7 separate regions of the Homo sapiens genome follow, and all the other regions are linked to region 6. The links are contacts of gene promoters, found by promoter capture Hi-C in blood cells and fetal thymus (Javierre and others, 2016). All regions are on one chromosome and are shown on one strand. The core of a region is centred on a gene start or on the middle of the fragment in contact, and the rest is flanking DNA. Distances in the headings are between cores, read along the strand shown. Region 1 overlaps KBTBD3 (kelch repeat and BTB domain containing 3). Region 2 overlaps AASDHPPT (aminoadipate-semialdehyde dehydrogenase-phosphopantetheinyl transferase). Region 3 has its middle 9.5 kb from the start of MSANTD4. Region 4 overlaps AASDHPPT (aminoadipate-semialdehyde dehydrogenase-phosphopantetheinyl transferase). Region 5 overlaps MSANTD4 (Myb/SANT DNA binding domain containing 4 with coiled-coils). Region 6 holds the start of DYNC2H1 (dynein cytoplasmic 2 heavy chain 1). Region 7 overlaps GRIA4 (glutamate ionotropic receptor AMPA type subunit 4).

Region 1 (3,736 bases), core at 10-2,509, 3.0 Mb before region 6:
ACCAGCAGGTTGGTTGGCTGTTTGTGATTGGCTAAGGCTTGTTTTTGGTTTTTGGTTTTTAAGTCAGTTACAATAAATGTTTCCAAGTTAAGTTTCAGTTCTCTTACATAAGAGGGCTGGCTACAGAGGGTAACCTCAGGCTAATAGCCATCTTATTTAACAACATTATATCACACTCTTGGGAAGATGTATGATTTTTATACAAACTAATATTTCATATCTGTGTATTTTATAAATATTAGAAAAGAAGAGAAAACATGCATAATTTTAAAAACAGTCTTACAAGTGACTTATGAAGATGCCTTGTGAGGTAAAGAATTAGTTCTGGGACATTAGCCATATATAATTGTCTTTATGCCTCACTGTAATTTGAAATACTCTTTTTCTGTCCTAGGTCATATGTTATCAACATTGTTAAGTCAAGATTTGAACTGTTGTGACAGTTAATTTCATTTATAAGCTTGCCTGGGCCATCTGGTGCCCAGACATTTGGTCAGACATTCTGAATGTGTCTGTAAGGATATTTCTGGATGAGATTAACATGTGAATCAGGAGACCAAGTAAAGCAGATTCTCCTGTGTGGTGGGCCTTATCCAATCAAATGAAGAATTGAATAGAATAAAAGACTGAGTAATAGGAAATTTATCCTGCCTATTTGAGTTGGGACATACATCAGTCTTTTCCTGCCATTGGACTCAAATTGAAAAACTGACTCCTCTTGGGTCTTATGCTTGCCAGCTTTTGGATTGAAACTTACACCATTGGCTGTTGTGGTTCTCAGGCCTTTGCACTTGTACTGAAACTGTACTGTCAGCTCTCCTGGGTATCCAGCTAACTAGTTGTAGATCTTGGGACTTCTTAGCCTCTATTATCACATGAGCTTATAATAAATCAATCTTTCACTGTCTCTCTCTCTTGCTCTCTCTCTCTGCCCTCATCTTCATCCATCACATTGGTTTTGTTTTCTCTAGTTCCTTTTCCTCAGAAATAACCTCCAAGCCTTTCATTATCTCTCTTCCTCCATGATACCCACTCTCATTTTTAATATGTCTCCCTATTCATAGTTACTCAGAACACTACACACAAAATGATTTCTACAAGTCACTTAGATTTCCAGCAGTACTGCCAGTTACAACCTATTACTTTCTCCTGCACACACAGGCACATACACACCTCCACAGCCACACACACATTCACACAGGCACGCTATTTTTCCACACAGTGTAATGGCTATCCAGTGGAACTTTCTGTGATGATGAGAATGTTTTATATTTGCTTTGTATAATATAGTAGTCACTAGGCAGATGTATTAATCTGACTTATTCAGAAAAACAGAACTAAAGGGATATATATATACACACACACATATATGTATATGTATTTGTACTATACATATGTATAGGTATTTTTACTATATACTTGTATATGTGTTTGTAATATATATATATGGAGAGAGACAGACAGAAAAACTATAAGGAATTAGCTCATGTGATTATGGAGGCTGAGAAGACCCAAGATTTGTAGTCAGCAAGCAGGAGACTTAGGAGAGCTGATGGTATAGTTCCAGTTTGAGTTCCAGCTTGAAGTCAGGCAGAAAGAAAGAGTTCTTTCTTATTCAGCCTTTTGTTCTATTCAGACCTTCAACAGACAGGCTGAGGCACATCTACAGTGGGGAGGACAATCTGCTTTACTCAGTGTACCAATTCAAATGTTAATCTCATCTAGAACACTCTCACAGACATACCCAGAAGTAATGTTTAACCAAAAATGTGGGCACTCTGTGTCCCAAACAAATTGTCACTCATCACACCACATATGACTGACCACTTAAATGTGGCTAGAGCAATGAGGGACCTGAATTTTTAGTTTTGTTTACTTACAAGTAATTTAAATAGCTACACATGGCTCATGGTTACTGTATTGCATAGCACAACAGTAGATTGTCTTGGTCCTGGAATGGAGCCTTAATTGATGCTGTAGGACAATTTGGACTACTTCTCCAGTATCTAGCTTCCACCTAGGCCTCTTGGAACACCCGCTCTGGGAGAACCAAGCTTCATGCAAGAAGCCCAGCCACTCTGAGACTGTCATGCTGTGAAGAAGCACCAGCTAGCCACTTGGAGAGGGTGCATTAAGAAAGAGAAAACCCTAATGATCAGTGAGGATGAGATTTTTTTCATATATTTGTTGGCCACATAACTGTCTTCTTTTGAGAAGTGTCATATCCTTCTTTTGAGAGGTGTCATATTCTTTGCCCACTTTTTGATGGGGTTGTTTGTTTTTTTCTTGCAAATTTGTTTAAGTTCCTTGTAGATTCTGGATATTAGACCTTTTTCAGATGGGTAGATTGCAAAAATTTTCTCCCATTCTGTAGGTTGCCTGTTCACTCTGATGCTAGTTTCTTTTGCTATGCAGAAGCTCTTTAGTTTAATTAGATCCCATTTGTCAATTTTGGCTTTCGTTGCAATTGCTTTTGGTGTTTTAGTCATGAAGTCTTTGCCCATGCCTATGTCCTGAATGGTATTGCCTAGGTTTTCTTCCAGGTCTCTTATGGTTTGGGGTTTTACACTTAAGTCTCTAATCCATCTTGAGTTAATTTTTGTATAAGGTGTAAGGAAGGGGTCCAGTTTCAGTTTTCTGCATACAGCTAGCCAGTTTTCCCAGGGCCATTTATTATATAGGGAATCCTTTCCCCATTGCTTGTTTTTGTCAGGTTTGTCAAAGATCAGATGGTTGTAAATGTGTGCCCACATGGTATACAGCTTCACAAAAGATTGAATAAAGAAGCAGATATGAGAATCTAGTTGTCTTCCATTAAGCCAGATGTTAAAGAGATTTGCAAAAATATAAAACAATGTAACCCTTCTCAAGAAACTTTTTTTTTGTTTTGGAAAATAGTTATTTTACAGTTATCCATTTATATATTTTTGTAGTTATATATAGTTATATACATAGGTATGTATATAAAATGGATATATATGAATATGTGTATTAAATAGATATATCGAATATAGTTATATCAAATTTTTTCTTTTTAAATGAATCAATAAATATTTAAGTGTTCTCAGAAAAAAAAAACAAAAAAAGGAAGAAAGATCCCCTCTCTTCTAGCCGTCCCAGCTGAATCATAAGAAACGTGAATGAGGAAACCATACTGGACATGTAACCCAGTCAGACCTTCAGATGGCTTCAGCCACAGCTGCCATTTGCCTGTAGTTGTATGAAAGCTCCCAAGCAAGAATCATCACCTAAACTCACAGGACCATTAGAGATTATAAATTGTTGTCTTAAGCCACTAATTTTAGGGTGATAACTGGAACAGAAATGTCGAATCAAGGTTTTCTATTTTTCTGGTTCTCCAAGTTCCCAATCCTCTTTTCCTTTCTGTTTCCCACTTCCTTGCTTTTGATGATGCAACTTTTATGTTTAGAGCTGAATTTGCAGTTCATGATATTCACAATTATCTGATCTTTACCTATCTTGGATTTCTGACCTCATGTTTAAAAAATCTTTCTTAATTAAGATATATGTGATTTTCCTTTCTACTTTTAAATAGCCCAACTTGGAAAAGTGCTTGCCTTTTTCTTCTTCACTAAAGCCATAACTAATTAATGCAATCTAACACTGATCTTTTTCAACCAATTATCTTGTAAAAGTCTAACCTCAGAAGGCATATAGTCTATGGTCCAAGATCAGCATTTTAACAGCTACTTTGTTACCAGAAGAGAATGGATTG
Region 2 (3,373 bases), core at 528-3,027, 3.0 Mb before region 6:
CAGTGGCTCACGCCTGTAATCCCAGCACTTTGGGAGGCCGAGGCGGGTAGATCACGAGGTCAGGAGATCAAGACCACCCTGGCTAACACAGTGAAACCCCATCTCTACTAAAAATACAAAAAATTAGCCGGGCGTCGTGGCAAGTGCCTGTAGTCCCAGCTACTCTGGAGGCTGAGGCAGGAGAATGGTGTGAACCCAGGAGGCGGAGCTTGCAGTAAGCCAAGATCACGCCACTGCACTCCAGCCTGGGCAACAGAGCAAGACTGTCTCAAAAAAAAACAAACAAACCAAAAGTGTTAATAAAACTTTAATTTTGTTATAGTGTGAGGCAATGACTTTCTGATAATATCACTCATAAAAAATGGTAAATGGGCTACAATTTTTCTTTTTGTTAGTTCTGTAAATTACATCCAATACAGAATTTCCCAAACATTAATATGTCTATCAGCTGGGAATATTGTTTAAATATGGAAACCCGGCCAGGTGTGATGGCTCACGCCTGTAATCCCAGCACTTTGGGAGGCCAAGGCGGGCAGTTCACCTGAGGTCAGAAGTTCGAGACCAGCCTGGCCAACGTGGTGAAACTCCGTCTCTACTAAAAATACCAGGTGGCGGGTGCCTGGAATCCCAGCTACACTGGAGGCTGAGGCAAAAGAATTGCTTGAACCCAGGAGGCAGAGCTTGCAGTGAGCCAAGCACCAATGTACTCCAGCCTGGGCGACAGAGCCAGACTCTGTCTCAAAAAAAAAAAAGATTCTGCTATATATATTTTTCTATGATGTGATATTGGCTGGGCACAGTGGCTCACACCTCACGCCTGTAATCCTAGCACTTGGGAGGCTGAGGCAGGCAGATCACTTGAGCCCAGGAGTTCAATACTAGCCTAGGCAACATGGAGAAACCCTGTCTCTATTATAATATTAAATATATATATATTCTAAGTCCCTTCAGGTTCATATAGACCTAACTAATTCTTTTATTACAGCTAATAATTATCTGCAGAATGCATCCACCATTAATTTATTTAACCAATTTCTATTAGCAGCATTCAGGTTTTGTTGTTATTCATAAATATTTTGGATAGAGTACTATAAACAAGATCGCTAAATCAAAGACTATGTGTATTTTCAATTTTAACATTATTTTCCAAAAAGCCTGTAGCAATTTCTAGTGTTTCCATCTATATGATTGTTCTTTTCCGACATTTTCACAAGCTCTAAGTGTTTTTTTTCCAATTTTCTGCAAATCTGATGGGCACCTCACTGTTACTTTAATTTGCATTACTCTAATCATTAAGGTAATAGCTTACTGACTGCTTGAATTTGTTCTTCTGTAACGTGCCTATTAATATTTTCTAATCACTTCATAGAAGCTCTTTATATATTATGGATATTGACACCTTACCAAATTTGTTATAAGAATTTTCCTTATTCTATTATTTATCTTTTGTATTTGGTTATATTTTTGGAATATAATTTTTTTAAATTTAAATATCCATTCTTTGATAAATTCTGAACTCTGTCTCGTTTGAAAAGAATTCATAAAAAGATTTACTGCAACTCGACATCATAGTCAACTATATTTTGTCCTAAAATTTTAAACTTTTTTATTTTTAAATTTCTAATTCCTCCAAATTGGTGTATATAGTATGTGTTACATCCACATGACTAACCAATTCTACCAGCACCATTTAATAAATAATCTTTTATCCACTGAATTGAAATATGTATATATCCTGGGCTCTAAGATTAACTCTTCCAGTTGTCTATTCTTTCGCTAGTACCATACTCTTTTTAGTTTACAATGACTAACACAAGTTTTTGAAACTGGTAAGGCAAGACCCTTACTATATTTTTCATATTCCTAGTCATTAGTTCTTCCATAACAACTTTAAATGTATGTAACCCAGTTTCACAGAATTTTTCATATTTTGGTATCTGCAAATTCTTTTAATAGGAATCAATAAAATCTCATACTGAGAGGCCATATACTGTAGAGAGCAGTGGTTAAATATATGAAGTTTTACTTTTTAGCTAAGTCAACTTGGACAAATGTCTTAACCTTTTATATAAAATAACAGTAGTACTTACGCACTAGTCTTACAAAGATGAAATAATACCTATTAGGCATCTAATATAGTGTCACACACTTGTAGGAATTGCTCAATAAATACTAGTTACACAATCAAATCCTACTGACAAAGGAAAAAGACCGACCTGTAACTGGGAAGGAGGAAAACTCCTTGAGGGTGGAGACTTGGTTTTCCAGTAAGGAATTCAGAGTACAAAGTGATGTGTGAGTTTCTAAAACTACTTACAGGTTTTAAATCCCAAGTGCATTTAAAAAAAAAAGTCCAGCAAAGTTTATTTTAAAAATGTAAAGACGAACATGTAAAACCATAGGGGGAAAATTCTGGTCCTTTCCCAAATTTCAATCATAATTTTTATGTATTTTGTCTATTTTATTTTGCCTTACTTTGTAAATATGGTCACAAAACTAAACAATTCAAAAGTTACCCTTTATGCTTATCACTTCAAACACTTTTAATGGTAGAAAAAATTAGAAAACAAAGGGAAAACCAACCAAAATTTTCCAAAAGAGGGTAATAAATTAAGATGAAGACCAGGAAAACACCATTCTTCCTAAGAGTAAGAATGTACCGTCCTGGCATATGGTAGGCTATATACTAGGTATGTTCTCTCCTGCACGTCCACAGCAACAGTTGGGAGAACAGGTAGAGGGAGGGAAATGAGCTGCACTCAGCAGAAATGGTTAATGCACCATGAAAGAAAAAGACTCTCTGAGTTCCTAGTGGATTCTTACCTATAGGACAAGACAGAGTAATGGAATTGACTCTTTCAATGCACTAATGATAACCCCCAAAAGCCAACTCTGTCTTTAGAGTTGGCAATCTAGTAACAATGCCTAGTACAAAACAGAGTACTTTCCTTGCTGCTCTCCTAAGTTTTGCCTAGCATCATTTAGCAAGACTCTTAGGAAAAATCCCTTGCTCAATCTCCTCACTTACTACAATAAGTAGAGCAATTCAAAGAATCTCCAATGAAGCAAATCAGTGTCTACTTCCCATCTTCATTAAGAAATCATGCTGTGTCCATTGATGCTTCAGGAATCAGTAGCATGGTAACAACACTAGTGACAATTGGAAAATCTCTCTTCCTTTCTGTGTTACTGGACATAGCAACAGCTTTTTCACAACAAAATAAAGAAAAGGAAAAGGCCTAGACATTGTGATTAGTCAAGTAAGATCAACTAAAAAAAACTGGTGGGGGGAGGTCTAATAACACAATTAACAGGAAAACTAAATCTTAAATTTTTGCTCAATTGTCTTTCCATCATTTATTTTTCTTTTTTA
Region 3 (3,718 bases), core at 1,113-3,612, 2.9 Mb before region 6:
CTGTTGGGGTAATGGGATCCGAATATTCAGCTATTTGAACTAGATTACCCTACGGAGACACTTCTACTCCTGTGTGTCTAGTGATTCCCATCTTAATCTTTGGAATATCTGTTGTCAGTTCTCTATAAAGCTTTTGGAAAATACAGCATGTAAGCACATCACAGCCACATATTTATCTGGTAAGGTAACTAATACCTAGATTCAATTGTAACAATTGTCATTTGTGTAAGGTGCAATAATGGTATAGTATTCCTTATCTTATAGAGATACACTTGGAAAGATTATAGATGAAATAAAAAATAAAAGCTCAAACCCAAGTGTCCCAAGAAAAAGAATAATTTTACAGTGATCTACCTAATGAGTGTGATCATCTCTTGAGAATAAACATGTTAAATACTTTTTTTCCTACCTCCCTTCAACCCCTCTTTATAGTTCTTTATCTTATGCCACAGTGGGATTTTGTCTCCAATTCATTATACAAGACTTGCAGGAAGAATGATTACGCGCTGTTTCTCAAAGTTTGGTTTCCTACTGTTTGCACTGGAGGTGTTCCAAACCAAGGGCTATTTTTTTAGTTCTTACAAGTCTATTTCAAAGACTAATTTTTTGTATTGATAAGGACAAATTCTGAGTAACCTTCTAAGGGAGTCCTTTAAGGGATAATAAAATTTGATGCTCATAAACTGAAACTAACATATCATGAGGTCACTTAGAATCAGACTGCACAAAATGCTTGACAACACTCAAAGTCCCTCTGCGTAAATGGATATGCATATCATTAGAATCCCCAAAATTTTCCAGAGAAAAACTAATTATTACTGAATCATCCATGTTGATTTAACCTGGTTGGGGTTTTTGATTCTTATTAATTAATGTATTTGTACAATTTTTACTTTTGCTTTTTTTTTTGTCTTTTTATGATTGCTATTTCTCATTATTATTTTTAGTTTTTTCCTCTTCAATATGATTGGAGTTCTTTTGCTCACTAGAAAATAAAGATAGCTGTAGTGGGTGAGCTAAGAGTTTGTAACTCAATGTTACGTGGGCTAAATCCAAAGCATCTCAGAACCATTGCTCTTTGAAAGCTCGTTTCCCTTAAATAGATCTGGAAGTTGTATTAGTTTCCTATTGCTGCTGTAACAAATCAACACAAACATAGTGGCTTCAAACAACACAAATTTATCATCTTACAGTTCTGGAGGTCAGAAGTCCAAAATTGGAGTCACTGGATTAAAATTAATTTCCTTACCTTTTTCAGCTTCTAAAGGCTTCTCCCTATTCTTTGGCTCATGGGCTTCTTACTGCCTTTTCCGTACCAGCACTGGTTGGTGGAGTCTTCTCACACAGCCATTGCTCTGACACTCACTTTCCTCCTCCCTCTTTTACTTGTAGGAACCTTGCAATTAAATTGGACCAACAAAATAATCTAGGATAATTTGTCCATCACGTGATCCTCAATCACATGTGAAAAGTCTATTATGCCATATAAGGTAACATATTTACATGTTTTGGGAATTGGGACTTAGACATCTTTCAGGGGATGTTATCCTTCCTACCATAGAAGTATAATTAGCCACAAATTAGTGGCACGTGGGAATGTTTCCTGTTGCCAGAACTACCATTCTTGGCTGGTAGAGATAAGCTCCTGAAATCCTGAATTGGAGATGGCAATTCATTTTGAAGAACTGAAATAATTTTATGAAAGGAATTAGAAACTATTAAAGTGATACTATTTTATTTATAGCCAAGGAGCAGTTTGCATTACATATAGTTTTGCTAGTCAATCCAGAAACTTAACTACCATTTAGCAAATTGTATCCATAGAATAAGTGCATCTTGACTTGTCAACAACCACCTCCCAGATGAATCAGAAAATGCCAGTCATTTCTAAAGTAGTTTCTACTTTGAAAAAAGTGACTCATTAGGCCATTGTTGCTTATTTACAAAATACCTTGAGTTTAGTGTTTCAGTCATCCGGTAGAGCCTTAGAGAGACTAAAACAAAGGATATCCTTTAATGGAAGTTTATTCATTCAACTAATATTTATTATGTCCTACAATGTGCTGGGCATTGTGCTAAAAACTACATTTCCAATGGTGAAAATGAGCATCACCCCTGTCCTCCCTGGGTTTAGTCTAGTGAAAATAATTATGGGAAAAGGAAGAGACAGGTATGGAACAAGGTCACTAGTAAGCTGTATAGCAGTAATGGTCTTGATGAGTTACTATAATGAGAATGTTTTGTCTGCAAGGGGAGGAGGCTTCTGAAAGGAAAAGGAAGACAATCAGATCGACAAGAATAAACTATTGCCTGCTTTAAGGAGTTTCTTTAGGGTCAGTACAATTGTTTGGCAGGCATGTGCCCTCAATGGCATTGCTTAAGAAGGAAAAATGTTTTCCATTTCAATATGGCAGAATCCCTTATTTTCAGAAGCTCTGAGAAAATGGTTTGAAATAGCATGAAATGACAAAATAGACATGCCTTAAACTCCATGCTTCAATTTCTCTGACTGCAAATAGAAAGAATACTTATTAGGACAGAAATGTGAATTTCTGTTTCTTTTATATCCTTTTTTCGTGGATTCTGTGAGTTTCTTACTAAATAATGGGCAGTGAAACAAATTACTTTCATCTCTTGAGGAGCTTCTTTCTTTCTTAAATGATTCTGAACTTTTTCTTCCCTTTTCGAGCATTCACGTGGATAAGCATATTTGAAAAACTGACCATAATGGAATAGTAAATATATCTGGTAAAGCAACTGATTGTTACTATGGCAACATCGAATGTTTGACATTTAGTTTTTCCATTATTCTCTGTTGCTATAGTAATAAAACCTTGAATTCTGACACCATTTCCAAATTGTATTAAAATAAAGCCCTGTTCATCCCCCAAGAAGGAGGGAGAGCCAGTACTATCAATACACAAAATGTATTAGAATGTCTTCTAGCACTAGGACACAGATAACATGAGACACACTGTGCGGCATTTAATCAAACTGAAAAACATGCCTAAAAAGTAGAAAAATAAAGAGGAAAAATCCATAAAGTAGAACAAAAGTTACTTTGTTATTAAAAATCAGCCTTTTATCTTAAATACATATAAAAACAGCTTTCATTTATGACCTGTTAAAATTTAACATCCAATATTATTGCAGAAGGAAGAGCATAATCTTTTTTTGTTTCTTTTTAGAATGAAATATAGTAGAATAATTGGCAATTAAGGGACAAAAAAAGGAGTAAAAATATCTCTTGGGGTTTTGATAGGCTTTCATATATTACATTAAATGCATTATATTCTCATCTACTTTTAAACTTACAATCAGGAACCAGAATAGTATTATGTTACTTTATTTTTTTAAGAGACAGGGTCTTGCTCTGCCATTCAGGCTGGAGTGCAGTGACTTGATTATAACTCACTGTAGCCTCAAATACCTGGGCTTAAGTGATCCCACCCCCTGCTCTCACCTCAGGCTCCTGAGTAGTTAGGACTACAGGTACACGCCATCACACCCAGCTGCTTTCGAAATGTTTTGTAGAGATGAGGTTTTACTATGTTGCCCAGGCTGGTCTCGAACTCCTGGCCTCAAATGATCCTCCTGCCTCAGCCACCCAAGGCATTGGGATTGTTGTTTCTTTTGCCTTTTCCTCTTCAGAAAAAAACATTTATACATATTGTTTCTATTGCTGAACAACCCAGAAAGCCTTACCAGGAATCATAGC
Region 4 (3,787 bases), core at 886-3,385, 3.0 Mb before region 6:
TCTATGGAGATGGTGCAGCAGCTTAGGCTAAGCAAGAGCAAGATCTTTCTACTTCTAAAATGAAAAGGCAGGGAAAAGTTGTTCCTGAACCCATGAGATGTATATATGGAGAAGGCTATGTCAGAAGCTGTGATGCTGAGGAACACAGCTATTTCCAAGCCACTGCAGGGCAGGAAGGCAAGTGGATAATCATCCTATTTCCCTTTCTACCTAGTCCTCTGCTAATACCCTCCCCCACCTCTATTTGCAAAACCCGATCAAGGAAAAGACAGCCTGGCCAACAAGGTACATAGAAGTCAGCTTCCTGCGGTAGTGAAGGGTGAAAGATAGTGGATTTAGAGGGGAAAAGAACAACTAGTTTAGCAGGCTTCTTGCTCATGCAACACTGGAAAAAGCATGAAGAGCTTTAAAGGGTGCTAAGTAACAACCGAAAACACTCATGGAACTATCAGGAGCATCAAATTTATGGGATTTCACTTGCCTATTGCTGAAGGCTTCTAGGATAGTAAAAAAGTGGTCTTACACCTGCAACACGGTCAGTCCCCTAAAGGTGACCTGCAGAGGGGTATACCACACCAAGATTTGGGCTCTACTGCTTAAGTACTCAACAAATGTTACTTTTTTCCCCTTCTAATGCTGGCTCCTTTCCAATGTTTTTTCATTCAAAATGAAAAACATTCAAAATGAAATTCGTTTTCATTCAAAAATGACCCTAAAAGAACAGCAACTATGTACTCGTGGGCAGGAAAATTCCTCTGAAGCCCCACACCTTTTTACTTAAAATACAGGCAAATTTGCATGCTACTTACAATGTCTGTAATACTTTTATTATGAAAAGATTCTTTCCAAAATTTCAGATAAAACGAATGCCTCTAGATGACCAATTGCTATCTTTTGATGAGTTACTACCACACACCAGTGCCTACTCCTAAGTATGTATACTCCTTGAGAAGTGTGGGCTTAAGTGAGCTCAATTATTCTGACACTGTTGTTACTTCTAAGTAGCACACAAAGAGATTCCATCCTAATGTTTCAATCCTAATAGGGAAATGTAAGATTTAATCACAAAACACTATACATACAAATAGTAAACGCATAACAGCATAAAATTACAAATATTGGAGATTATCCCTGGAAAGGGAAAGATGAAGGGGTGGTAACTAGGGGGTAGGAAGTCTTTAGCTGCATTTGTTTTATTCCTGAAATGAGAGGAAAAAAGATCTGAAGCGAATATGACAAAATGCCAACATGTGCTAAACCTAGGTGTTGGTTACACGTCATTATTTCATGGAATAAGCAAAAGCTACATATAAAGGTCTCTTCTTCCCTGCCCCAGGATTGCTGGTTGTTAAATATTTACCAGCACACCACTAAGTATAGTGGTTGACTGAGGTTTTGGATCTAAAGATCTGAGCCTAACTCTGATCAAATAACAAGCTTCAGTATTCAATGAATATATAACCTTTAGTAAGTTGTTCAAGAACTCAGTAACTTACTTTCCCCATCAATACAACTCCATAGAGTTATAAGAATTAAATAGCCTGATATGTGAGTGCTTAAGATGCAAAATAGCTTCTAATATAAATACCATAAGACATATACAGCAGTTACCTGACATTAACTGATAAACTGGGAATACATCCAAAGACCTTTGCCAATCCCAAATTCACAAATACTATGAAGGTATATTTATTTCCCCCATAAAAATGAAATCCATCATTCATTAGCTCTCTTCATATCCTCTTTAAACGTACTGATACTTGGAGTTGTTTTCAGGAATATTTTTGACCAAAGATATATTTGCATATGTGTATTTATAAATCTATTTGGTCCTCAAGTTCAGATGGTAATAGTTCCACTAGTGAGGAGCTGTTGAGTTACTCAAACCTAACTGGTTTTTGAGTTTCAGATTCTGAATAGGTAACAATTCTAATTTTGATAGTGAAAAATTTAACTGAAAATTTATCCAAATCTTTTCAATTTCTGAGTCTGAAATGGAAGAGACACAAATATACAGATTCATTTTAAAAATAAATTTATGAGAGTTCCTATGCAGGAAACACATTAACAGAGACCAATAAAGCCATACATTGGTCAGTATGTTATAACTGGACCCAGCAGACATGAGTATGAAGCAGCATGTGCCAGCCCAGCACAAAACTCAGCAAAATGCAGCCATCAAATACTTGGAAAAAGTGGATATGAATACAGCGTTAACAAAGAGCTTCATGTGGAGGGGGATAGGATAATGGGTTTAAGAAACAACTAGATCCCTATACCACTCTGCATAGGACTGTCCCTTCCTCTTAGAAGTCTCAAAAAATGTAACTCCTATGCCCACTTTGTTCTCAAAAAGCTATTTCACATGAATGGAGTAAATCTAAGATGTGAGAGATAGCAAATGGGGAACAGGGAATCCAACACAGGAGAGACAATCCCCAGGATCATGGTAAAGGAGATCCCAGGATTACAGCTGTACACCAGCCATAGAAGGCACAAAGTCCAACTTGGACAAAGCAGATTGCTCTAGGAGTGATTTTTTAAAAGATGAAAGAAACTGATGGAATCATTGTTACGTTTGAACATATAGAGAAGATATTCATACATATGGTAGAAATCTATGCAGTCAATTAACTAAAGGAAATAAGAAATTAGTATATGGTAAGGATAATACATCACTCAGCTGTATACAGCAGTTACATAATCTCAATAATGTACACATATCCTTAGTGTAATCACAGTCAACAATGTAAACATTGAATTGTTATGTTGGGAGGAGAAAAGGGGATAAAAAGGGAATGTGTAATGCTGGGAAGCAGAAGAGGGAAGCTTTATTTTGAAAATCAAAGAAACAATGCCTAAAATTAAAAAATCAAGTAAAAGCAATATAAGCATGTCATTTGGAGACATGGTAATAAATAACAAAAAAAATAACATCTAAAAGAGTTGAAAGGGCTTGCCCTGGAGACAGGAAATGGAAGAAGTCAGAGTAATGGCCTTTTTCCTTAGGAAAAAAATCTTACAGATCTATCCAATTTTTTAAAGCTGTGTACACATGAAACTTTGATTAAAAGTAATAGAAAAACTAAAAACTAAAAAACACAAATCCAACACAGTGTCAGGCTCATAGAAATTCCATAATAAATGTTCATTTTTTTATTATTATAATGACAAGACAAAGTTTTTCATATCACCATTACACTCATGCTAGGGATAACAATACTTCCTCTATTATAAATGCTACTTGACCTTTATTTACTATGCTTGGCATAACTGGGCATGCTTAATAAAATAAAAAAAAAAAACATTCAAATTTTTTTCTTTTACTAATCGAAGTACCTAATTTTATACAATTTGCACACTTTTAATGTTAGTAACAGAAACAATGAAATTATTTTACTTCTTGATACTTAAGAGTTTAACTCCAAGACATGCACTACAACCACATAATAGATTTTTGTCATCAATATGATGGTCCTGGCATCTTATATATTAAGTTCACACTTTAAATTAAGTACTACTTGCTAAAACGAAAACAGGTAAAAACAATGAACAGACGGTTCACGTTAAGAGGAATACGAAAAGCCAATAACAATACTGACATAACAATCTTATTTGTAATGAAAGAAATACAAATTTTAAAAATGACATACCATTTTTTAATTACATTGGCAAAAATTAAACCAAAAAGAATACCTACAATTGACCAAGGAGTATTCTGGCAGGGGGAGGGAAGTCACATACATATAGTACTAATTAGAGGGGTAAATTGTATAATTAAAGCCCT
Region 5 (3,811 bases), core at 88-2,587, 2.9 Mb before region 6:
ACAAGTATAAAATCCAGTCTAGGAAGAGTCCTGCAAATTTTATGCTGGAGTAATTTGATTTGTCAGGAAAGGCTTCCCTGAGAAACGGATGCTTAATCTGCAAGCTAAAGGATGAGGAGGAATAAAGTAGACCGAGGAGGAATAAAATAGACCGAGAAGGGAGCAATCCATTTTCCAGGCAGAAGGAACAGTGTGGACAAAGGCCCTGAACTAAGAAAGAGTTTGACAGGAATAGGTGGCTGAAAGATGGCCAGTGCAATTGGAGGAGAGAGGGAGAATTTGTGGGAGAAGGAGCTGAAGTAGTAGGAAGGGAGTCAGGAATGAATAGTGGCAACTGGTTAGGAACCTTTGCAGCACACCAGTGGGGAGAAAACGGCAATTTGGACTATGTTAGTACTGGCAAAGATAAAGAAGTACACAATTTTAAGCTATATTTAGAGGGTTGTTTTTTGTTTCTCTTAAAAATTATATAGTTCATTAGGTTGAAGTATGTTGTAGAAGTTGCAGATTGATTGATTGCTTGTACTTTTTTCCTTTTAGGAATTATCCAGACTGCCTTGCCACTAGATGAATGGAAGACAATGATTTGAACTAAGGGCCAGCAAAGAATTATCCCTGGTTTTTGTGCTTTGCAGCATTCCTCAAATTGTTTTCACATCTCTTACCATAAAAACTGCATTGAAATTGAAAATGAAGCAGTTGAAAAGAAAAAGGAAAAGCAATTTTAGTGTTCAAGAAACTCAGACCCTTTTGAAAGAAATTACGAAAAGGAAAGAAGTCATTTTTTCCAAGCAGCTCAATACAACAATTAATGTGATGAAGCGAATGGCTTGGGAAGAGATTGCACAGTGTGTGAATGCTGTAGGAGAAGGAGAACAGAGGACAGGGACAGAGGTGAAAAGAAGGTACCTTGACTGGCGAGCACTTATGAAGAGAAAGAGGATGAAGGCCAACATTAAGCTGGTTGGTTCAGGATTTCCCCTTCCCTCCTCTGATTTGGATGACTCTCTCACTGAAGAGATAGATGAAAAGATTGGATTCCGAAATGATGCAAATTTTGACTGGCAAAATGTGGCAGATTTCAGGGATGCAGGTGGATCCTTAACTGAGGTCAAGGTGGAAGAGGAAGAAAGGGATCCGCAGAGTCCTGAAGTAAGTATTAGCCTCTGTACCCTCTTTTAATCTTTTCAATTCTGATGTGGGAGATTATTGTTCAGGAACTGTTAACACATTCCAAGATTTTCAAGCTTATTTAAAAATAGTACATAACAAGTCATTCTGCTTTTCTCTTTACATCGTTAATACTTTTCTTCCCACCTAAATATAATTACCTAGGTTATATGTATTACAGACATCAAGTAATTCAGTGTAAATGATATTCAAAATTCAAATTAAGTATTTTTCCCCAAACGACGCAGAAAGCTTTTAAGAAATATTTAGACAAATTGCCACAAAGTAGAAGTCAATACTGAAAATTGCTTTTCTCTTTGCTCTTAGTTTGAAATTGAGGAGGAGGAAGAAATGTTGTCATCCGTCATACCAGATTCCAGGAGAGAAAATGAACTTCCCGATTTCCCCCACATTGATGAGTTTTTTACCCTTAACTCAACACCATCTAGATCTGCATATGATGAGCCTCATTTGCTCGTAAATATTGAGAAACAGAAACTAGAGTTGGAAAAACGACGACTGGATATCGAGGCCGAAAGGCTGCAGGTAGAAAAGGAACGCCTACAAATCGAGAAAGAGAGGCTGCGGCATTTAGACATGGAACATGAGCGGCTTCAGCTAGAGAAGGAGCGGCTGCAGATTGAAAGAGAAAAGTTGAGGTTACAGATAGTCAATTCAGAGAAACCGTCCTTGGAAAATGAACTTGGTCAAGGAGAAAAATCCATGCTTCAACCACAGGACATAGAAACAGAGAAGTTAAAACTTGAGCGAGAACGCTTGCAACTGGAAAAGGATAGGCTGCAGTTTTTGAAGTTTGAATCTGAGAAGCTGCAGATTGAAAAGGAACGCTTACAGGTAGAGAAAGACAGACTTCGAATTCAGAAAGAAGGACACTTGCAGTGATTTTTCCAGGCTTCCATTTAGCAAATGTTTGAAAACTCTAGATTTTTCTCATATCAGGTGATATAATGATGGTTGCTGGATTAGCTGTGGTTTCTTGTCTAATGTCAGTGTTCAGTAGGAAAAAGTTATATGTGGATAACTGTATGCCTAAGTAGTATATAAAAGCTGTGCCCTAGCGTAAACAGTATAGCAGAAACTTACTGTGCTGGACTCTTTACCTTATAATATTACATAGAGTCTTGTATTGTCTGTGTACCCAGAGTTTACAATTATGTCCATATAAAATTCTAGCCCAGAAGTTCTCATCTGGGGTAGATTTTGGCCTTCAGAAGACCAATTTGGTGATGTCTGGAGACATGTTGGGTTGTCAAAACTGGGGTGGGGAAAAGGTTGCTACTGTGCAATGCATACCTCCTCAACACCCCCCCACACTCAGTAAAGAATTTTCCAACCCAAAATATCATTAGTCCTGAGGTTGAGAAACCCTGTCCTAGCCTAACTGTGTACCTCTATAGCTATGTTTTATAGTTTTAGAATATTAAAACCTCAGATATTTATGTGGGTAGGTACTTAAATGGCCAAAAACTTTAACTATGAAATGTTACTGTGTAGTATATTGAATATAGGAAGTGATGAAGATTATAGGTATTTTATTCCCATGTTTCCATCTATAAATAGCCTTCTCAGATTCAGAAAACAATACAGAGAACATCAGAAATTTTCTAAAATGGGTCACTTTGAAAAGAATTCTTTTTCTCACTATTAATGCTTTAGAAGCAAGACGCAATTTTAAAGCTTTAGTTCCTTTTCTTTCAGTCATTGTCTTAGTTTGGGTACAAAAATGTCATTTCAGTAATGTACTGAAATCTTATAAGTGAATAGTTGAAGCTAGTAAAAATGATACCAGTATAAAAATGGTACTTGTAGTCCATGAGCTTGAACCCAATGACTGATTGTTTGACTTTTAAAATAAGTAATAGCAGCCATTTGGGAGTAGGGGGTAGGTGGGGAAGATGTACTCCGTATCAAATAATAATGATGTTGAAATAATGATAGTAGGTATGTATTATGGATTGGAGAAGCACTTATTACACTATCTAACCTAATATGTAGAACAATTCTTGAGAGTTGTATCTGTCGTTATTTCTGAATGTGAAGCTCAGAGAAGTGACACAGAGTAAATGGCTGATCTTCTATATTGTAGTATATTTTGTCCTTCCCTCTTCCCTGAGGAACAAAGCACGTATCTTTAGTCTCTTTGATATTTATTCTGAGACCAAGGGCTTGCTTGACCTGATGATTTTCCTTCAGCTCTCTGAAGGTGCTTTTTCCACAATCCAAGTGATTCTGATACACACTAAAGTTGAGAATCACTGCACTAGATCACTTTGTGTTTTCTGATTTTCAAGGTTGATACGTAGCTTTAATACAGCTCTTCTGTTGACAGTTATTACTTTAATTTTGCATTTGTTCCTTGTAAGAATGGCTGGAAACTGTGTGTTGACATTTGAGGATGGGTATGCAAGGAAAAAATATACTTCTGTTTACTTACTCTGACTTTGAAATAGTGTTATTTTTCTATATCTGAAATAAATGCTTCTACCATAGAAATAAATTTGCCTATACTATCTGAGAATTTGTAATTTCAGATGATACTCAGTGCTCTAAGGGTAGAGGTTATCAAGCTTAGAAGAGAGCCCTGTCACAGTCAGTGAGGACAGAGGCCTAAATAACATTT
Region 6 (3,738 bases), core at 1,169-3,668:
GAATCACGCTAACTATCAGGCAACTAAAGTACAACTGAAGACATAACAAAATATTTTCAAATATGACTAAAAACCTGTAGCGAAGTGTACAACTAAAAATAACAGATACATCGTTGGGCTTTACTAGTAATAGCTTTAACTTAAAAAAAAAAAGTTCTACCTTCAACTTTCAAATACCCAAGCCAAGATACACTTTCACGAATCCAAACCCCTTTCCATCTTTCCTACTGCATTCTATCCGAACTTTCAGTGGCATTTACAACAGTGTGTCCTGATTTTATCATTTGCTGAGTATATGTCATCCTAAGCCACTGGAGTGAGTCTAGGAAAGGCAGAAAGCAGGGGGCTCTATCCTGAACTACGCTACCTATTGGAGAAAAAGAAAAGTTAACATTTAGGTTGTAAATTTTGTCCCTTACTTTCCTCAGCCATAAAATAAGAAAAAGAATAGTTCCTATCTTACAATGTCGTTATGGCTATTAAATGAACGAATACATATAAAGTACTTAGAACAGTGCTTGACAGAGTCTAAAGTGAAAATAAATGTTAGCTATGATTATCCATCCTTTTTATATCTTTGTAAACCCATCATGCCTGGCAAAGTGCCTTGCATGTACTGAGTTCAAAGTAAATGTTTATTAAATACAATCGAATTAAACCTAAGAATAAAGATAGTGAATAGGGTGAATGATTCAATCATCCTATAAAAATGCACTGAAGCCAGGCACGGTGGCACACACCTGTAATCCCAGCACTTTGGGAGGCCAAGGCGGGTGGATCACCTGAGGTCAGGAGTTCGAGACCAGCCTGACCAACATGGTGAAACCCCATTTCTACTAATTGCAAAAAATTAGCTGGGTGTGGTGGCACATGCCCTGTAATCCCAGCTACTTGGGAGGCTGTGGCAGGAGAATCGCTTGAACCCGGGAGGCAGAGGTTGCAGTGAGCCAAGATTGTGCCATTGCACTCCAGCCTGGGTAATACGAGCGAAACTGCGAACTGCGTCTAAAAAAAAAAAAAAAGGCACTGAATGTTTTTGCTGAGTGTCAAAAACTCTGCTAGACCTAGGGATAAGGGTGAACACCAAAGGAAGAGGTTTAAAATATGTCTTTGTTTTATTAACTTAAATCTATTTACTGAGTCCCCTTTAATGTGTCAGGCAATTTTCTTCTGTGTTTTTCTTTTAGGCTTATATATATAAGCCCTGATTGCAAATGCAACCCATTTTTTAAGCAATCCTGCCAGTGGAGGGAGCAGTGCAATTAATAAATCAGTATATCACATGATGTACACCAAAAAAGAATTCAAACTTTATTTTGAAATATATCATTTCACAAAAATTTAAATTCCTAACTAATCTTTCCCTTGGGCAATGTTAAAATCAGAGCCTGATCCAAAAAAGATAGACTAGAATTTGCCTTCCCCCCAAAAAAAAAACTCAAAAAGGGGAGAGAAAAAAATAAAAATAACTAAGTAAATGTTTTCTTTTTAGTTATAACGTATCTGCAGTCTTTCTTAAAAAGTAGAATATAGGCCGGGCGCGGTGGCTCATGCTTGCAATCCCAGCACTTTGGGAGGCCGGATCACTTGAGGTCAGGAGATGGAGACCCACATGGCCAACGTGGTGAAACCCCCGTCTCTACTGAAAATACAAAAATTAGCCAGGCGTGGCGGCGCGCGCCTGCTACTCGGGAGGCTGAGGCACGAGAATCGCTTGAACTCAGGAGGTGGAGGACGCAGTGAGCAGAGATCGCGCCACTACACTCCATCCAGCCTAAGCGACAGAACGAAACTCCGTATAAAAATTTAAAATAAAACACAATCTAATTGCTTCTATTCAGATGTATGGAAGGGAAACATGCTTCGGTCAGGTAGGATGCAAAGCTTGGAAACTACCTGCTTAAGCACGAGGCCAACGCATCTAAGCCAATAATGCAGGAGAAGTGGAGACAGCCTTGGGTTCCTGAAAAGGATCTGGTTGGTAAAGCTAAAGAGTGTGACCCGACGTCCCTCTGGCTGGGCCTGGGGACTTGAAGAGTGGTCAGGGGTCAGGCAGGAGTGCAAGGAACCGTACCGTGTTGGAAAAGGAGATTCCTGCGTCGGATCGCTGCACCCTGAGGAGCATCTGGTTGCCGTCATCCAAGAAGTTGTTGATTTCAAGACAGTTGCACAACAGTGGCTGATCCCAGAGTTCAGACATCAACCCGAAGTAATTCTGGGTAGTAGTGAAGATGAAGAGCTTCCGAACGTCCGCAGTCCCGTTCGCCATGATTGGAAGGGGTGGAGGGAAGTTGGGGGAAGGGGGAAGGAAGAAGAAACCAGTCCGGAGGGAAGTGAAGGGAAGAGAGGAGCTTTGCTCAAACCCGTAGCCCGACCGCGGGACCGCAGAGCTTCGCGGTTGCCAGGGGTAGTCGCTATGGCGACGGAGCACTACGGCGGCGTCGCTGGCGGCGCGCGGTGGGCGTTGCCCTCTCGGGGCACGCGCACGCAAAGCTCGCGGAGGCTATCGACCGCCTCGGAGCTCTTCAGCGGCTCCCTGCGGTCATCGATTGTAAGGGGTTCGGACAAGTTTATGTTGGCTCTCAAACATGTCTTTTATTCTTCTTACTGATTTCTTATCACGCATAATCAGAAGAGAGACATCTAGCCTTCAAGTACAGCAGCGTGATCTAGATTTAGGAGAGCTGGGTTCCAGTGCTCGCTCTCCACGTGCACCTGGTAGCAAACCAGTCTGTCAGCGTCAAGGTACACATCTGTTAAGAAGGGGAAATACTATCTCACAACCAGGGGTGTAGTGCGGATTGTAAAAGATTACTATTTAAAAATCGCTTTTTAGAGAAGCTTATAAAGACTAGGAATTCAATACAATGTTAATTTACTTTCTCAGTCGCCCTCTGCTCCTTTCTGTGCTGCTGCATTTCCCAACATCGTTTTTTCTATTATTAATTTTAGAATAATTTAACCAGCAATTTTTTATTGCAATCATTACCCGAGCACAACCATATTTGTAAAATAGCTAAAATGTAAAATGATACTTTTTAGTTTATTTTATAACAACCGCAACCAAATTCTGTGAAAATACAGATATGAAAACGGTCTTTGTCATTTTCTACTTCATGGCATTACTATAAACTACTAAATTGCTGGTCATTCATCCGAACATTCGTCAAACACTTTCTCAATTCAGTAATTCTCTTCTAAAAATATTTACTACATGCTATTAGGTTGGTGCAAACGTAATTGCGGTTTTTTGGCAAGAACTGTAATTACTTTTGCACCAATCTAACACAATTTGCCAAGTACCGAACTAGGCCCTGGGGACACAGTTCCTGCCCTCAGGAAGTTTTTGCTGTAGTCATTCATCACCTCAGCACTGGTTTGACCCAAGATCCTAGGGTACACAAACATATGCAGATTTTTTTTGTTTGCACTTAATAATCATAACCTCCCCTTAAAACTATACTATTTGAGAATTGGAAGGAGAGAGTCCTTTTATTTGCTGAGCAACTTAAGATTTTGGAGTGGGAACTTAAAAAAGCTGAACTGCTCTAAATTATAAAAGGAAATGAATGTAAATTCTCATGAAATATCCAAACAGTGAGAGATGGGAGTCTGGCCACTGGATGGGAAAACATCCAAACAGTGAGGTGGGATGCTGACCACTGGGTGAGGGAAAAAATCCTAACAGGAACCCAAGATGACTGTGTAGCTAATAAAAAGATTTTGAAAGCCAAAGTG
Region 7 (3,415 bases), core at 739-3,238, 2.8 Mb before region 6:
GGCATTTTAAATGGACAAAGTTCTCTTACTATTATTATTATTATTACCATGCAACCATGATAGAAAAGAAACCTTTTAGAATTTGGCAAGAAGAATAGAAAAGGTAGACACTCAAGTTTTCTAATTTCTTTAATATGACAAAAAATATATAAGATGTCCAGTTTCTTTAGCAGGAGCTCATTTACGGCTTATTCAGAGTTTATCCAAAGCACCCAGGTGTGCCAATTTTCTTCTTAGAAACCAGCTAAGCCTCTGAAATGGGTCAGTGTGCTTTAGGCACTCAATTGCCTCCTCCAGACTTGGTCTTTTAAGCACAGGTGCTAAGTGGAGGGTCTTTCTGAGCCTTACTCACCCTCTGACAGGAACTTGGCAATCCAGGCAGTTCTTAGAATTGGCTGCTCTGTGGGATTCATCGTGAGTTATTTACAAAGCTTCAGTTGTTCAGGTCAAACAACTCAAACTCTCAATACAGGGGCAGGAGTGGGAGGGAGGGAAATGGGAGTCGGAGGTAAAGTGGCTGTATTGCTTAAGAAAGAAGAAAGATTTTTCTTGGATTCTGTAACTAACCATTTAAAAATTTCATATACATTGAATAGCTACAACTTCAAAAATTTTTTGGACTCTCTTAGGAATAAGCCCGAGTAATGTATAGGCTTTTAATTAATATTTCCCAAAATAACATATATATTTCTTCAGTATATATATATATATATTTAGCTTTTTCTTCTACAAAGGGACGACAGGAAGTAAATACTCTGTTATTTCCTCTTATGGTCTGGCTTCTTTAGACTTTAGCAATACAACATTTTTGTTTGTTTGTTTTCTTTTACTTTTCACTTTTACAAATGCTAATATAGTTGAGGAAGGAAACTGAAGACATCTAGTCCCTTGCCTGCAAATAGTAAAGCTGAATCTCTGAAATATATTTTGGTTTTCATTCTTACAATTGAATACTAAAGTTATTCCTATAAATAAACCTCCAAATTGGCAAGTTTACTAATGGAAATCAAGTCATATAATTATGCAGTTAAGCTATATGTAAAAAACTAACCAACAAAAAATTATATTACCCATGTCTGGCTGAACTAACGTATTGTAGATAATATGAGCAAGCATTTCTAAAACCACTAGATGGCATTCACTCACTGCAATTTTGGCCAAAGAGCCTTTAAAGCTTTATCATGATCTGCAGGGGTAGGGAAAGGCAGATGTTATCCATTATTTGATGATATTTTCCTATCATTTAATACAACGGCAAAGCTCAGTTTAATCTTTTCCTGGCTGCTTCAAATCAAATCAACAAATATTTATTGAAACATTTATTCAAGGACTTTTCCATTTTGAGGAGAGTTGAAAACCATCTCCACTGGGGTAGTAATGTATTGACTTATAATACCTAGCAGAAAACATGCTATATACAGTATTCCACTAAATTATATACAGTATTCCACTGACTTTTCTTTTATTTTATTGCTTTAGTAATTTATGTTGCTGTTTCTCATGTAGCACTTCTCTAAAGTAAGTGTGCCTCTAAAAATGGTGCACCCACAAATTTAGAATTTTTGTACTATTTTTAGATGGGATTAATCTTCAACATTAATATTTTCGAAAACTGGAGGCCAAGAGCTCTTCAAGATTCACACAGAGTCTTTCACTCATTCAAGTCTTAAGAATATGTGAGAAATAGCTTTCTAAATACATTGAGACTTAAGAACCAAAAAGGTCCTTGGTGATAAAAGATTGTGATTTGGTCCTGAAGATAGTCATGGAATGAAAACTCTCAAACCTCACACTCCAAATTAAAAGCTGGGAGAAGATGTTGATGGGGACAAGTCAATCAAAGGTTAAATTTTTCTGTATAGGGTCTAGGTTAAAAATATAAAATCTAGGACTTACCTGTTCTAATATGTTTTGAAGTCTCTCTATCTCACAGTCTATTACAAACTTCTTCTCTTGTCTTCTGTCAAGTTCTTCTAGAAGTTGCCTATAGCTGACATCATTAAAATTTTCCACACATATAGCGCTGACATGCCAACCATTTTGTCCTGCTTTTTCCATAATAGCTTGGAGTATCGAGTATCCTATTGGGGAAAAAAAAAGTTACTAAAAACATGCTTTTACTCCCCTTTAATGATGTATGCAGGTACTGAGCCTATATCAACACTGTTATGTTCCAAAATATACTGAATGCTTAGAAACTTAAAGTCTGTGTGGTTATTTCTGAATAATTTATTCTTACTTTCTTTAGTCATGGCAACAAAATCTCTTAAAATGTTGATTGAATGAAGTAGCAACACCATACCTTGTGCTCTCAAAATCTCTTTACTGGAGAACATTGCATTGCTGTAGACATTTTTTTGATGAGACAAACCCCAAACCAAATCCACCACCATCTGTAGTCAATAGCAATTTCATAAACCCTTTTTGTTATTTTACTCACTAGATGGAACTCATTTTGAACAACTGTTTGACTTTCCCCTTGAACAAGGTAGTACAACATTTTTGGTTCAACTATGGAAGAGAAGATGTAAAAGAAACAGTACAACAGTATTTATTGAGGACTCATTATTCTCGGTGCTTTATTTGTTGATGAGGACAGGTGCATATTAGAGAGGCATTATTTAACTCTTCCTCTCTCAGCAGGTGAATGATATAGACTGGGGATCAGTTGAATAACCACTAGGTGAGGCACTGGTACTCCTAATCAGTAAGAGACTGATGACCAAATAAACAACAGAAACTTAGTTTTAAAAAGTGTGTAGCCGGACTCAAGGTAAAGGCTTGGCCCAAGGGAAAGCTTGGTTAGAGCTGTCTGGATGGAACAAGGAAAAATACCACAGAGGAGAAACAACTTGAATTGGGTCTTGAAGGTTGAGAAGGAGCGTGCAAGACTGATGCAGGTGGGGGTGTTTATTACGTGAAGACAGCCTGCCATGAGAGAATAAAATGAATGGTCTTCACCCTGTTCTTGATCTAGTTCTCTCTGCATGTGGAAGGGAAGGCACCTGGTCCAAGCACCTGGGTTAAGGCAGAAGCTGTAAACTCATAATTCCTGCATTTCTTCAGGAAATGCAATATATCTTCAGGCCAATATTGTCTTGATTGTCCTGCCTTTTTTCCATCTCTCTTTTTTTTTTTTTTTTTTTTTCAGACAGTCTTGCTCTGTTGCCCAGGCTGGAGTGCAGTGGCACAATCTTGGCTCACTGTAACCTCCACCTCCTGGGTTCAAGCAATTCTTCTGCCTCAGCCTCCCAAGTAGCTGGGACTACAGGTGCGTGCCACCATACCTGGCTGATTTTTGTATTTTTAGTAGAGCCAGGGTTTTACCATATTGGCCAGGCTGGTCTTGAACTCCTGACCTTGTGATCCACCTGCCTCAGCCTCCCAAAGTGCTGGGATTATAGGCGTGAGTCAC

The links. The method cuts DNA at HindIII sites, captures the fragments that hold promoters and counts their contacts. A CHiCAGO score of 5 or more calls a contact.
Region 1: a contact is called between a fragment that was not itself captured here and the fragment with the promoter of DYNC2H1 in region 6, in 5 of 17 cell types (total B cells, naive B cells, naive CD8 T cells and 2 more). The highest score is 11.8, in total B cells.
Region 2: a contact is called between a fragment that was not itself captured here and the fragment with the promoter of DYNC2H1 in region 6, in 1 of 17 cell types (total CD8 T cells). The highest score is 5.4, in total CD8 T cells.
Region 3: a fragment that was not itself captured here is called in contact with the fragment with the promoter of DYNC2H1 in region 6 in 5 of 17 cell types (activated CD4 T cells, total CD4 T cells, naive CD8 T cells and 2 more); the score reaches 9.4 in activated CD4 T cells.
Region 4: a contact is called between a fragment that was not itself captured here and the fragment with the promoter of DYNC2H1 in region 6, in 1 of 17 cell types (non-activated CD4 T cells). The highest score is 5.0, in non-activated CD4 T cells.
Region 5: a contact is called between a fragment that was not itself captured here and the fragment with the promoter of DYNC2H1 in region 6, in 6 of 17 cell types (total B cells, non-activated CD4 T cells, total CD4 T cells and 3 more). The highest score is 15.6, in total B cells.
Region 7: a contact is called between a fragment that was not itself captured here and the fragment with the promoter of DYNC2H1 in region 6, in 8 of 17 cell types (naive CD8 T cells, total B cells, total CD4 T cells and 5 more). The highest score is 11.7, in naive CD8 T cells.

Annotation. Positions count from the first base shown.
Region 1 is chr11:106,059,496-106,063,231 of GRCh38, reverse strand. The region is part of intron 2 of KBTBD3 (kelch repeat and BTB domain containing 3); the gene reads left to right. Among named protein-coding and RNA genes, the nearest start is that of KBTBD3, 16 kb to the left of the region's middle. The HindIII fragment of the contact is 1,594 bases long and covers 463-2,056 here.
Region 2 is chr11:106,082,019-106,085,391 of GRCh38, reverse strand. All of the region lies in intron 2 of AASDHPPT (aminoadipate-semialdehyde dehydrogenase-phosphopantetheinyl transferase), which reads right to left. Among named protein-coding and RNA genes, the nearest start is that of AASDHPPT, 6.0 kb to the right of the region's middle. The HindIII fragment of the contact is 3,713 bases long and covers 1-3,373 here.
Region 3 is chr11:106,029,874-106,033,591 of GRCh38, reverse strand. No RefSeq gene overlaps it. Among named protein-coding and RNA genes, the nearest start is that of MSANTD4, 9.5 kb to the right of the region's middle. The HindIII fragment of the contact is 4,460 bases long and covers 133-3,718 here.
Region 4 is chr11:106,098,042-106,101,828 of GRCh38, reverse strand. AASDHPPT (aminoadipate-semialdehyde dehydrogenase-phosphopantetheinyl transferase) reads right to left here. Exons shown (of 6, transcript NM_015423.3): 6 at 3,134-3,787. Among named protein-coding and RNA genes, the nearest start is that of AASDHPPT, 22 kb to the right of the region's middle. The HindIII fragment of the contact is 1,392 bases long and covers 1,440-2,831 here.
Region 5 is chr11:106,007,797-106,011,607 of GRCh38, reverse strand. It overlaps MSANTD4 (Myb/SANT DNA binding domain containing 4 with coiled-coils), which reads left to right. Exons shown (of 3, transcript NM_032424.3): 2 at 541-1,152; 3 at 1,498-3,709. The coding sequence starts at 691. The coding sequence ends at 2,073. Among named protein-coding and RNA genes, the nearest start is that of MSANTD4, 13 kb to the left of the region's middle. The HindIII fragment of the contact is 175 bases long and covers 1,250-1,424 here.
Region 6 is chr11:103,108,106-103,111,843 of GRCh38, reverse strand. It overlaps DYNC2H1 (dynein cytoplasmic 2 heavy chain 1), which reads right to left and starts at 2,418. Exons shown (of 89, transcript NM_001377.3): 1 at 2,075-2,418. The coding sequence starts at 2,269. RefSeq lists enhancers at 2,586-2,635, 2,706-2,825. The HindIII fragment of the contact is 957 bases long and covers 1,887-2,843 here.
Region 7 is chr11:105,860,690-105,864,104 of GRCh38, reverse strand. GRIA4 (glutamate ionotropic receptor AMPA type subunit 4) reads right to left here. Exons shown (of 17, transcript NM_000829.4): 5 at 1,897-2,081. Among named protein-coding and RNA genes, the nearest start is that of MSANTD4, 160 kb to the left of the region's middle. The HindIII fragment of the contact is 1,623 bases long and covers 1,177-2,799 here.